Regions from separate parts of the Homo sapiens genome. Here regions 2 and 3 are each linked to region 1. Evidence: promoter capture Hi-C in human tissues and cell types (Jung and others, 2019). All regions are on one chromosome and are shown on one strand. The core of a region is centred on a gene start or on the middle of the fragment in contact, and the rest is flanking DNA. Distances in the headings are between cores, read along the strand shown. Region 1 holds the start of DOLPP1 (dolichyldiphosphatase 1). Region 2 has its middle 58 kb from the start of LINC00963. Region 3 has its middle 31 kb from the start of LINC00963.

Region 1 (4,054 bases), core at 1,051-3,550:
AGTCCCACTGGGTGACAGTGGGTGAGTCCCTTCTCTTTCCTGGGCCTCTCCACTATGAAGCTCACCCTCACAGCACTGGGCTATGAAGATAGTGAGTGACTGGTACCCCCAAAGCTTTAGCCATCTCCATAGCCTGTCCCAGAGCCAGCACTACCCTGGGGTTTTCCTGAAGATGCTACCAGGGACTCTGGCCTCTCTACTCTCTGATCCAAGCCCCCTCAGGCCTCCCACTGCCCTTAGGACAAGTTCCCCCTCAGCCCAGCTCATCTGGCCCTGCACAGTCCTGGCCCTGCTTCCCTCTCAACCTCTGCTCCAGTTCCAAGGACCAAACTCGAGTTCCCTGAGCGCATCGTGCCCTGTCCTACTTCTGGACCTTTGCACACAGTTTCCCCCCACCTGGGACGCTCTCTGGGTGAACTCAACAAACAACTAAGAACCCACCACAGTGGCAAAAAAAAAGACACATATGTCCCTGCTAGTGCAGAGCTTGAGGTCTGACGGGAGAATCTGCCATCCAGACTCAGTTCATGATCCACTAATGTAGATATCAGGACAGCATCTGGGAGTAGAGACAGGGTCTCTTTATATCCCACTCTATCCCCCAAGCCCAGCACAGGGCCTGGCTCTTAACTGGGCTCAAAAACTGTTGAATGAATGAAGTAAGCAAGTGACGGTGTGAAGAGGGGTGTGACGGAGAAGTGCAGGGAACCATGGAAGCATTAATAGGGGACTAGACCTCACCAGATGCTCCAGGCTCAGCCAGGTCCATCACAGCCTGTATCATGCTGCACACAACTGCCTGCCAGGTTCCTTCTGGCTTGTTGGATTGTGAGCACTCCAAGAAGCTACTCTGAGGCCAGGAGGGGAAGCTGTGAAGGTGCAGAGGCCTTAGCAAGTCTTTCCCCACCTCCAGGCTTTGGCTTTCCTCTTATAAAGCAGCTGGTTTTCATAGTGCAGGAATGCAGGGATATTTCAGGCCTGTTAAGCATTCTAAAAACCAGAGCTAGCCCAGGGCCTAGCACTCAGAAGTGTTCAGTGGATATTGACTGAATGAATGAATGGATGAATGAATGGTAGACAGGCAGGCAGGCAGGGCCCAGGACCTGGCAGGGCCATACCACCCCCAGTACAACCCAGAACACCAGCGTCAACGTTCTTTGGCATTCAGTCCTGGTGCCCTCAGCGGACCCAGGTTCTCACATCTCGCAAGACAGCAGCATGAGCAGGCCCTTCCCAGGCAACCAGGGCTCAATGAGGGGCTCCAGCCTTCCCTGGCACTCAACCATCTTACCCAGGGAGGGTCTTGCAAGGTGGGATAACATTAACTGCAGGTATTTACTGAACGCTTACTGCATGCCGGGCACTGTACTCAGCCCTTCTTGTGCCTCCTGCTATTTGATGCTCATACCATCACCAGAAGGTAAGCACTGTAATCAGTCCCACTTTAGAGATGAATTAACTTAAGCAGAGGCAGGCACCTGCACAAGGCCTCAGCCTCAACTGGAGCCCAGATGGGTCTGACCCCCACGCCCAGGCTCTGCGCCACTCTTACTAGACAGCCTCCAGAACGCCGCTAATGGACCTCTCAACTGGAAAGCCCTGCACTTCGAGAGGTGTGTCTGATGGGAAGCAACAGAAGTCAAGTTCCCGGAGGCTGCCCGCCCCCTCATCGGGTCCTCTCTGTTGTGGAATCGTGCCCTGCTCAGGGCGTGGCACCACAAGTACTCAAAAGCCTGGCTTCGGCTTGCACACTCCCAGCAACGGGGAGCTCTTTCTCTTACAAGCAGCCCAAAGCACTGTTCGAAGGAAACAAGACACTCCCTGCACGCTGGAACAGGAGTGCGGCCTCTCTGGGACAGGGGAGGGCGGGGAAGAAGGGCCAAGGTCCAGGCCAGGGATCTTTTCTCGCCTCACACAGATCCTCAACCCATTTCAGCCCACCGGCGCCCCGGGACCCGGGGGAGCGCCCTGGCCGCGCAGCCGCAGAGTGCGCGAGCGAGCGCCTCACAATTTCGCCCAGCTCATCCTCGCACCACTGCGCCTGCGCGGCGCGCGCGCCGGCCGAGCCCCTCCGTGGTTCACTATTTGACAGTTCCCACCCCGGTCCCCCGGCGCCCCCTCCGCGGGCTCGAGCAGGCCGGAGCGCCCGGGACTGAGAGGCCGTCCCTGGGAAGGCGTCCTTGGAGCCGGGACCGCCTTTTACCTGCAGGATATTCGACGTGGGTGAGGGTCACCGGCCGCCATGAAGCGGGGAGCGAGCACTGTCCGTCCGCTGCCATCTTACCCGGAGACCGGGCTTCTTCGAGCAGCCAATGGGGAGCCAGGGGGGCGGTGGTCCTGACCTATCACGCCGGGGAGGCGCCGTGCACCCAATCGGAGGCCAATATAGGTAGCGGCGCAGCCATTCAGCGTGCAGGCCGTGGGGGCTGGCCCGAGCGGCGAATCAGAGAGCGGGGCCCCTGGGAGCCAACGAGCCGCCCCAGCTGGCGCCCAATCTGGGGCGAGCGCAGGTAGGCATCTGGCCAATCAGAGAAGGGGAGGGTTCCAGCACCGAACAGGGAGCATAACAGCCAATCAGAAGGTGAGGCTGCCTCAGCTTGTGGGCAGGGCGGGCCAATCAGGCGCTGGCTTTGGGGGCGTGTTGAACTTTGGTGGGAGCTTTGGTTCGGCTGGGACCTGCGCCCTGAATGAAGGCTTCCCTGGTACCCCCTGCCGATCCGCGGTCTTGGGGACCTGCGCGTCCGATAGCGCGTGCTCGAAGAGGAGAGGCAACCTCAGCTCCAGGGGGTTTGAACCGACCCACTTTCAGTTACGAGTAAACTGAGACCAGAGAGCAGAGGGGGCTTATTTCCCTCTGCCCCATACTGGCCGGCGAAAGGGCAAGTCACACAGAGCAGGCGACCTTTTTGTCAAAAGTGTGTGGGGCGGGGCGCGCAGTAGGCGCCCTAAACGCTGGACTGAACAGAGAAGCTTAATTGATACTTAAGAGTGGAAGCTTAGCTACAGTTAAGGACTCCTTCCTCCTTTCATTCATTTAATAAAGATTTATTGATTCAGTCACGTCTATGCTACTTAATGAGGCGTCTTGGGAGCATTTCAAACAAGAAGTCGGTTTTCCACCTACCCCTCAGTTTTCCCAAGACATTCCTGCGTGAACAGCCACACCTTCCCACCCGCCTTCACCTCTCCTACCCGACTCTGTCTCTGGCTGGATTGGATTACAGTGCAGGTAAGGTGGGCTGGGAGGGCTCAGCCTCTTGTCTCCTGCCGCTAGCATGTGCTGTTTTTGTCTGTTTGTTTGTTTTTTGAGACAGGGTCTTGCTCTGAGGCCCAGGCTGGAGTGCAGTGGAACGATCTTGCTCAGCCTCCTGGGTCCAAGTGATTCTCCTGTCTCAGCCTCCCGAGTAGCTGTGACTACAGGCGCGCACCACCGCATCCGGCTAATTTTTGCATTTTTAGTAGAGACCGGGTCTTACCATGTTGGGCAGGCTGGTCTCGAACTCCTGGCCTCAGGTGATCCACCTGCCTCGGCTCCCAAAATGCTGAGATTACAAGCGTGAGCCGCCATGCCCAGCTAATTTTTTTTTTTTTTTTTTGAGACGGAGTCTCGCTCTGTTGCCCAGGCTGGAGTGCAGTGGCACGCCCGGCTAATTTTCGTACTTTTCGTAGAGACGGGGTTTCACCGTGTTGGTCAGGATGGTCTTGATCTCCTGACCTCGTGATCCGCCCACCTCGGCCTCCCAAAGTGCTGGGATTACAGGTGTGAGCCACCGCCCCTGGCCACCATGTGCTGTTTTGCTGCGTGGGATGTACTGCCTCTCCTGCCCTACTTTGCCCGGCCCAATCTGGTTCAGGTGTCTCCTCGGCTTACAGGTTTCCACAGTCAAGTGAGGGGCCAGTACTGGGCTCTCACGGTTGCATTTCCTGTCCTTTCTCAGCCCTGACCTCACTGGACTGTAATCGGCTCCCTATCCCTCCCAGTCAGCAGCGGCTCTCAGATTCATGGAGTGCTGAGATCAGCCTGTAGAAAACACAGATTCCTGGGTCACAATGG
Region 2 (4,054 bases), core at 1,070-3,569, 460 kb before region 1:
ATGTACATCACTCCTTGGGACCTCAAGATCTGGTTCTGGCTCTGTCCCTGAGCCAGTGGCCCTCTCCAGGCCGTGAGCCCTGGAAACTTCAGCCAATCACAAAGTGACAGTTGGCACTGAGTTGGCACTTAGGACATGCCATGAGCTTAAAGGTATTGTCTCCCAGCAATCCTAGGGAGTTGGTACTCATTACATTCCTTTCTATGGATGAGGAGACTGAAAGGCAGGGCCTGAGCTGCTGACACGCAGTCAGTCACCGGTGAAGCTGGAACTCAAAGCCAGCCTTGCCAGACACCCAGGTCTGAGCTCTTAACTGTGAGCTGCGAACCCCCTCCAAGGTGGACCCAAGAGACGTGCAGCAAGGAGTGGGCAGTGGTGAGAAGCTCCCCCACCCCCCTGCTGCCAGGCTTCCTCCAGTAATGTGCCCATTTTACAGATGAGCTACCAGGATTTCGCTTTGGTGACTTGCCCAAGGCTGCACTGCTCAAGAATGGAGTCCATAAAAAAATAAAATCTGAGCAGATTGGAGCTGCAAGGGGGCTCAGAGCTCTTCTAATCAAAGCTTATTTTCCAGTCAGGGAAACTGGTCCAAAAAAGGCCAGGCCTCCCGGGACCGACTGGAGCTCTTTCTCCATCATCTTGGGCCACACAACCCTCCCCAGTGGATCCATAGCCCGCTAACTAGTGAGTCCCATTGAGTGGAAATGGAAGGTGGATTAGGGAGAACAGCTCAATAAAAGAGTCCAAGTTTTGGCCGGGCGCGGTAGCTCACACCTGTAATCCCAGCACTTTGGGAGGCCGAGGCAGGCGGATCACCTGAGGTTAGGAGTTCGAGGAGTTCGAGACCAGCCTGGCCAACGTGATGAAACCCCATCTCTACTAAAAATACACACAAAAATATTAACCAGGCGCAGTGGTGTGCACCTGTAGTCTCAGCTGCTTGGGAGGCTGAGGCAGGAGAATCGCTTGAACCCGGGAGGTAGAGGTTGCAGTGAGCCAAGATTGTGCCATTGTAATGGCAGCAAGAATGAAACTCTATCTCAAAAAAAGAGTCCAAGATTCACCCAGGGGCGGATGAAAGAACTCCCTGAGCCCTGGTGGAATTCCCCAGCGTGGGAGAGGGAGAGTGCAGCCCATGGGGGCAGGTCACAGCCCACACTCTTCCTTCAGGATCTTCTCAGCTCCCAGAGCTACCTTGCCTTTCCTGGCCCTGTGGAGGGGAGAATGAGGGCAGAGCAGGGAAAGTGGAGGGGTCCTGGGGCCCTCTGGGGAGAGGGAGCTTCTGTTGCTGTCCCAGCTCATGGGGTGTCCCTTGATAACCAGGAGAGAAGACTTTTCCTTCGCCCCCTTTCCTTCCTTCTCTCCATTCCTCTCCTGCTCCAACAACCAGAAGTGTGAGGCGGAAGCCCTGAAGTTTCTTGGTTTTGCATCTGCAGAATAGGGGTGCTGCCCTCCACATCCTTCAGTCTAGGGTGCTAGGAGCCCAGCAGTCTGTGATCCTGCTATGGAGAGGCTGGGAGCCCAGCGCTCTGATAAGTTGAGGCTAACATTTCATGTATTCATCCTTCTGAGAGATGAGGCCCCTTATTGGTGCCAGGCCAGCCCTACACTAGGGGCTGGGGTGCAGCCATGAATGAAGGAGACCCACACCTGCCCCCGTGGAGTCCCAGGTGAGAAGGTCTAGTTCTCAGCCTGAGAGTCAAATGTTGTGAGTCTACAAGAGCCTTATTCCCACCACATGGCTCTGTCAGACCCGTGATGTTTCTGGAAGCAGGAAGGAGGAAAGAAGGAGTGGAGAAAGGTGGGGTCACACAAGGGCACTAATTTTAATGTTCACTTTCAGTGAATGTAATCTTCTGGGATCTAGCACACCTACAATTTTGAGTGCCTTAAAATGCCACTGCTAATAGACTCATAGCACTTGTGTCTTTCAGGGGACCGTTCTCTGAAGCATCACAAATGCTCTGTGAACATTCATTAATTAGGACCCAATTAAATAGTTATCATTGGCTGAAAATATATTTATTGCAACGCGTTTGACCAGCTACTGGTTTCCCGGCTGGGCCTCCACATGTGTAGTTGTGCTTGAATGATGGTGGCCTGACAGGAGGGGTTAGAACATCGGGTTATCCTCTGACAATGCCTGCAGGGCTGCTGGGGAGTCTGTCCGCTCAAGGGCATTGATTCTAAGGACTTTCAATGGACCCTCAGTTCTTACCCAGTCTCTGTCTTGGTGCCTTCTTCCATGCTGGGAGCTTACTACAAGGGACTGTGTATGCCAGAGTCTTCCAGAAGAAAAATTCAAGGTTGAGCAATAACCTGGTTGCTCACGCCTGAAGTCCTTCCCTTTCCTTTTTTTTTTTTTTGAGATGGAGTCTCGCTCTCTCACCCAGGCTGGAGTGCAGTGGCACAATCTCGGCTCACTGCAACCTCTGCCTCCCAGGTTCAAGCGATTCTCCTGCCTCAGTCTCCCGAATAGCTGGAACTACGGGCACACACCACCACACCCAGCTAAATTTTGTATTTTTAGTAGAGACGGGGTTTCACCATATTGGTCAGGCTGGTCTTGAACTCCTGACCTCAAGTGAGCCACCCGCCTCAGCCTCCCAAAGTGCTGGGATTACAGGCGTGAGCCACCATGCCCAGCCCTGAAGTCCCTTTTAACTCTGTCATTCGGTAGCCCCCGAAGTCTCTTACCCAGTGGTCTAGAGCTCCTCCCGTTCTCTGCCTTCTACTAGAGGAAATTTCCCTCTAGAGGAAGTGCTGCTTGGCCAGGCTCTGTGTTGGCATTGGGGTGGAGGATGAAGGAGATACGTCATATACTGAACTCTTAAGGCCCAGCCCTGTGTCAGACCGGGGCTGAACACCTTGCACTGAATCCGCTTAAGAGCTCTGAGAAGTAGAGAATGGGTTCCAGTACAACAGGGAGGCAAACTTGAGTTACCTGAAATTCCTCACCAAGATTTCCCCAGGGGACTGGGGAGGATGGGGGCTGCGTGGCTGGCATGGAGATCTAGGATTCTCTGGCCCTCCAAGAGCAGAACAGCAGGTGGGACCAGAAGCCCCCCACCCAAGACTGGGCTGATGTGGCACAAAGGAAGGAAGCACGTAGGATCAGCTGCTAGGGAGGTGTTTCAGAAGCAGACAGAGAAGGAAAGCTTGTTTTTAGCAGTGGCCACCAATGTGGAATTTTGAAGGTATTTGTGTAAAGGGGAACCCTGGGACCATGTGAGACACTGTGCCACTCCATCATTTTTTGAAAATGACTGGGACATTTAGTACCCTGCTTGTATTCAGGTTACATACGATGACAGACACCAAGCCGAATGTGCCTAAGGAAAAGGAGAACTTAGGAGTCCACGTGAAACAAAACAGGGATAAGGACAGGAATGGAGCAGCCCTGAGTAAGGATGAGATCATGAGACTCAAATACTTCCAGACCCCTAGCTGTTCCTGTCTTCCTTCTGCCTCTGAGAAACATCTCGGTCTCATTTCTGTCCACCGCATATGGGGTTTCTCTGGGGAGGTGGAGAGTAGGAGGGGTGATTTTTTATTTTTTTAAGTTTTATTTATTTATTTTTGAGACGGTGTCTCTGTTGCTCAGGCTGGAGTGCAGTGGCATGATCTCGGCTCACTGCAACCTCTGCCTCCCAGGTTCAAGCAATTCTCCTGCCTCAGCCTCCCGAGTAGCTGGGATTACAGGTGCGTGCCACCACACCTGGCTCATTTTTTTTTGGTTTTTTTGTTTTTTTTTTGAGATGGAGTCTTGCTCTGTTGCCCAGGCTGGAGTGCAGTGGTACCATCTCAGCTCACTGCAATCTCTGCCTCCCGGGTTCAAGCGATTCTCCTGCCTCAGCCTCCTGAGTAGCTGGGATTACAGGTGCGCACCACCACGCCTGGCTAATTTTTGTATTTTTAGTAGAGACAGTGTTTCATCCTGTTGGTCAGGCTGGTCTTGAACTCCTGACCTTGTGATCTGCCCACCTTGGCCTCCCAAAGTGCTGGGATTACAGGCATGAGCCATCGCGCCCGGCCAAAGCGTGATTTTTTAAAA
Region 3 (4,054 bases), core at 890-3,389, 380 kb before region 1:
CCACCTCCCTGATCTCTGGCCTCAGTTTCCCTGGTTGTAAAGCAAGGATCCCCACGGCATGGTGTACGCTGCAGTGGCGGGGGAGTTAGGGGGCTCCATGGAGCTTCTCACACCCCAGTGTTGATTTAAGATTCTCTAAGCGCAGCAGAAGCGCGGTGAGGCGAATGTGAGAGGGCCGGGACTGGAGATGCTGGGGATGGGGTGGGCATACTTAGGAGAAGGGGCCCCACAGGTCCCGGAGCGGCCAGGTAGCTGGGGCACCACCCAGGCCCCCTCAGGCGCGGAAACCTTCCTGCTACCTGGTATCCTGCCTACCCCCCCCAGCTCGGCCGCCCTGGGGCCTCTCCGGCTCCAGCTCTTGGCTGGGCCTCGGTGCCAGCACAAGCCCTATCACCCGCCGGCCCTGGGGACCCGCCAGCCGCCTGTTTACGAGGCCAGCCAGCCCCCCGTCACAGCCGTGCCCACGGGGTGGGGGAGGGACGACAGATGGCGGAGGTGCCATTTTAACCAGAGTCTGCAGCCGTTGGGGAAGGAGAGGAAGTAGCCCAGGGCTGGAGGGAGCTGGGACCTTCTGTTGTTGCTGCCCCTGGGGCACCTCCATCCTACCCCCTCTGCACGGGCACCTCTCCCGAGCTCAGGTCTGAGTGGCACAGATCCAACAACCTCGTCACTGGGGCTGCCTAATCTTCCATGGACTCTGTGGGTGCCCCTTGGATCAGCGAAGCATCCGGGGTCCCCCGGGGGCAGGGGCTATAGGGGCAATCTCTTAAGGCTCCACTGTGAGGAGGGCCCCATGACTTCTCCAGCCCACAGCAAGGATCCCCCACCCCCACTACTGACTATGAAATGCAGGCTGCAGGGAGTCACAGCAGGAGGGACCGTGGGCAGACAGGGCTGCAAAGTTCGGCCTGCCTCGAGGCTCCAGCAGGGGAGCTCAGGACGGGTTGGGAGCAAAGTCTGGGAGAGGGAGAGGGGCTCCCCCCAGGCGTTCTGTGCTTTCATCCCAGCTCAGCACCCATGTCAGCCCCAGAACCTCCCCCAGGCTTCCACATTCAAAGCTCCAGCTGCAGAGGGTGCTGACCTCGCCCCTGTGGGGGTAGGGGGCGAAAGGGGGCTTAGGGGCAAGCCAGATGGTGATATGGAGACAAACTGCATAGCTCCTCGGTAACTCTCAGGCCCGTGTTTCACAGGTGAGGACACCAAGACCAGGGGCGTGAAGCCACTGGTCCAGGGTCACCCAGCTGTTGATGGGTGCGCCAGCCCCTGATGGTCCAGGATGAGGAGCACGTGACGCTCTCAGGCCACAGAACGACCGCACTGGAGGCAGCAGCCGTGGCTGTGAGCCTGCCTGTTCCCCAGGGTTCTTGACTCTCTGGAAGCTTCCCTTTGTGGGAAACCTTTGTGCACCCAGGCTTTTGGACAAGTGACACTTGTTTGTACAAGCAGGAGTGGTTTGGATCAAGGGATCGAGGTGATAGCAAGAGCCACTCTGCCTCCCTGAGCACCCGCAAAGCCCTGCTCTGGGCCTCACATGTGGTTTTTGTTTTGTTTTGTTTTGAAACAGGGTCGGGCTCTGTCACCCAGGCTGGAGTGCAGTGGCATGATCACGGCTCACTGCAGCCTCAACCTCGCAGGTTTACACAACCCTCCCACCTCAGCCTCCCGAGTAGCTGGGACTTTTGTTTTGTTTTGTTTTGTTTTTAATTTTTTGTAGAGATAGGGTCTTCCTATGTTGCCCAGGCTGGTCTCAAACTCTTGGGTTCAAGTGATCCTCCTGCTATGGCCTCCCAAAGTATTGGGATTATAGGCATGAGCCACCACGCCAGACCCACATGCGTTTTATCATAGGATGTCCTGGCTATCCTGGAAGGTGAATGCTGCTATTATATCCGTTTTCAGATAGAAAAAAATGAGGCTTAGGGAGATGTGGTGACTTGCCTCAGATCTCACAGAACCAAGCATGAGAACTAGGATCAGAATCCACTTTTCCTTGACCTTAGAGATGGTCTCAACCCGACTTGTATCAGCCAGATTTTTCCAGATTCAGGAGTGTGGATGTTTTCCATGTCGGATTTTGCTATGAATAGAATTCTGAGTCTCAAACAGTGTGCTCTTTGCTGTATGCCAGTGCTACCTCCACCTGCCTACTTATTTATCCGCCCATCCTCCCATCCATGTATCTGCCCCTCCACCCACTCATCTGCTGATCCATCTGCTGATCCATCCATCCACCCACCCTTCTATCCACCCGTCCGTTCACTTATCCACTCACCACCCAACTATCCAAGACCTCACTCACCAATCCATCTTCCCATCTACACATCCATCCACTCATCCATCATCCATCCATCCATCCATCTATCCATCCAACCATCCACCCATCTACTCATCCATTCATCCACCCCTCCGTCCACTCATCCATCCATCCACGCACCCATCTACTCATCCATCCATCCACCCATCCATATACCCACTCATCCATACATTCATCCACTCACCACCCACCCATATAGTCATCCACCCTCCACTCATCCATCCATCCATCCATCCGTCCATCCATATACCCTCCCACTCATCCATCCATCCATCTACTCATCCATTCATCCACCCATCCATCCACTCACCCATCCATCCATCCATCCACCCATCTACTCATCCATCCATCCATCCATTCATATACCTACCCATCCACACATTCATCCACTCACCACCCACCCATATAGTCATCCACCCTCCACTCACCCATCTATCCATCCATCCATCCATCCACTCATCCATCCACATATCCACCCATCCATTCACCTATCTATGCACCCATCCATCCAGACATGCATCCACTCACACCACCCACCCATCCATCATTCATCCACCATCCATCCATTCAACCATCTGTCTATGTACCCACCCATCCACACATTCATCTACTCACCACCCACCCATATCCCTCCACTCATCCATCCATCCGTCCATCCATCCATCCACCCATCTACTCATCCATCCATCCATCTACCCATCCATCCACCTATCTATGCACTCACCCTTCCACACACTCATCCACTCACCACCCACTCATACAGCCATCCACCCTCCATTCACCCACCCATCCATCATCCATCCATCCAGCCAACCATCACCCATTCACCCATTCTCAATCCACGCATGTTTCCATCCATCCACCTACCACTGCCCACCATCCATTCATTTTATTTTTATTCTGAGCCTTGCTCCTACACCTTTTGGTTCTGAAACATATGCTTCTGTGAGCTGACTGCTGATACTGTCCCTGTGGAAGTCACTGACTCCCACCCCTGGCTTAGCACACCAGTTCTGACAGGTCCCACCAAGGCTGCAACTCCCACGTAAGAGGGTCAAGCCCCCCTTCTTCCCGCCTCACCTCCACTTGGGTGGGAATTAGACTCTGGGTTCTTTTCTTTCCTTCCTTTCCGGAGTCACTCACTTCTCCACCTGGGTATTTCAGCCCCAAGATAGAGGCCTCAAAAATGTGGAAAAAGAACAAGCCACTAGCTCACTCTCAGAGCCTCACCACCCTGCAAAAGGACATCGATTATCAGGGCACAGGGGAGCATGCCATGGGCACCTGAGCCAGTCCTGGGACCAGGCACTAGCAGGACAAGCTGGTCTGGAACTGGGCAGCCTCCACATCTGCTTCCAACCTGCTGTGTGGCCCTTGACAACAGAATAAGAATAATCGCTCCTGTCCTTCTGAGGGTTGGAAGGGAAAACATGGAGGCTTTAAACAGTGAGAGCGCTTCAGCCCTTCAGTGACAGGGCATAGAAAGCCCTGGGGGAGGAGAAGGAAGGGCAGGGGAGGAGAGGGAAGGGAGGGGGGAAGAGGAAGGGACTGACTTCCTTGAGTACTTACTATGTGTCTGCAAGGTAGCAGGTGTTCCCATCTCTTCATCTCACTGGATTCCCCAACAACTCTATGCAGCTGGCATTCTATCCCCTAGCACACACGCTTCACCGATGGGGAAGCTGAGGCTCAGAGAGGGCCGGCAACTTCTCCAAGGTCACACAGCTCCCACAGGCTAGA

Evidence for each region. The method cuts DNA at HindIII sites, captures the fragments that hold promoters and counts their contacts. A contact is called where the count stands out against the background at its distance.
Region 2: a contact is called between a fragment that was not itself captured here and the fragment with the promoter of DOLPP1 in region 1, in 4 of the 25 tissues and cell types used here (IMR-90 fibroblasts, dorsolateral prefrontal cortex, lymphoblastoid cells and 1 more).
Region 3: a contact is called between a fragment that was not itself captured here and the fragment with the promoter of DOLPP1 in region 1, in 1 of the 25 tissues and cell types used here (hippocampus).

Annotation. Positions count from the first base shown.
Region 1 is chr9:129,079,357-129,083,410 of GRCh38, reverse strand. It overlaps DOLPP1 (dolichyldiphosphatase 1), which reads right to left and starts at 2,300. Exons shown (of 8, transcript NM_020438.5): 1 at 2,204-2,300. The coding sequence starts at 2,279. RefSeq lists a silencer at 1,873-2,602. The HindIII fragment of the contact is 10,069 bases long and covers 1-4,054 here.
Region 2 is chr9:129,544,327-129,548,380 of GRCh38, reverse strand. No RefSeq gene overlaps it. Among named protein-coding and RNA genes, the nearest start is that of LINC00963, 58 kb to the right of the region's middle. RefSeq lists an enhancer at 1-266. The HindIII fragment of the contact is 4,849 bases long and covers 1-4,054 here.
Region 3 is chr9:129,455,780-129,459,833 of GRCh38, reverse strand. No RefSeq gene overlaps it. Among named protein-coding and RNA genes, the nearest start is that of LINC00963, 31 kb to the left of the region's middle. RefSeq lists enhancers at 1-200, 201-722, 1,099-1,148. The HindIII fragment of the contact is 4,259 bases long and covers 10-4,054 here.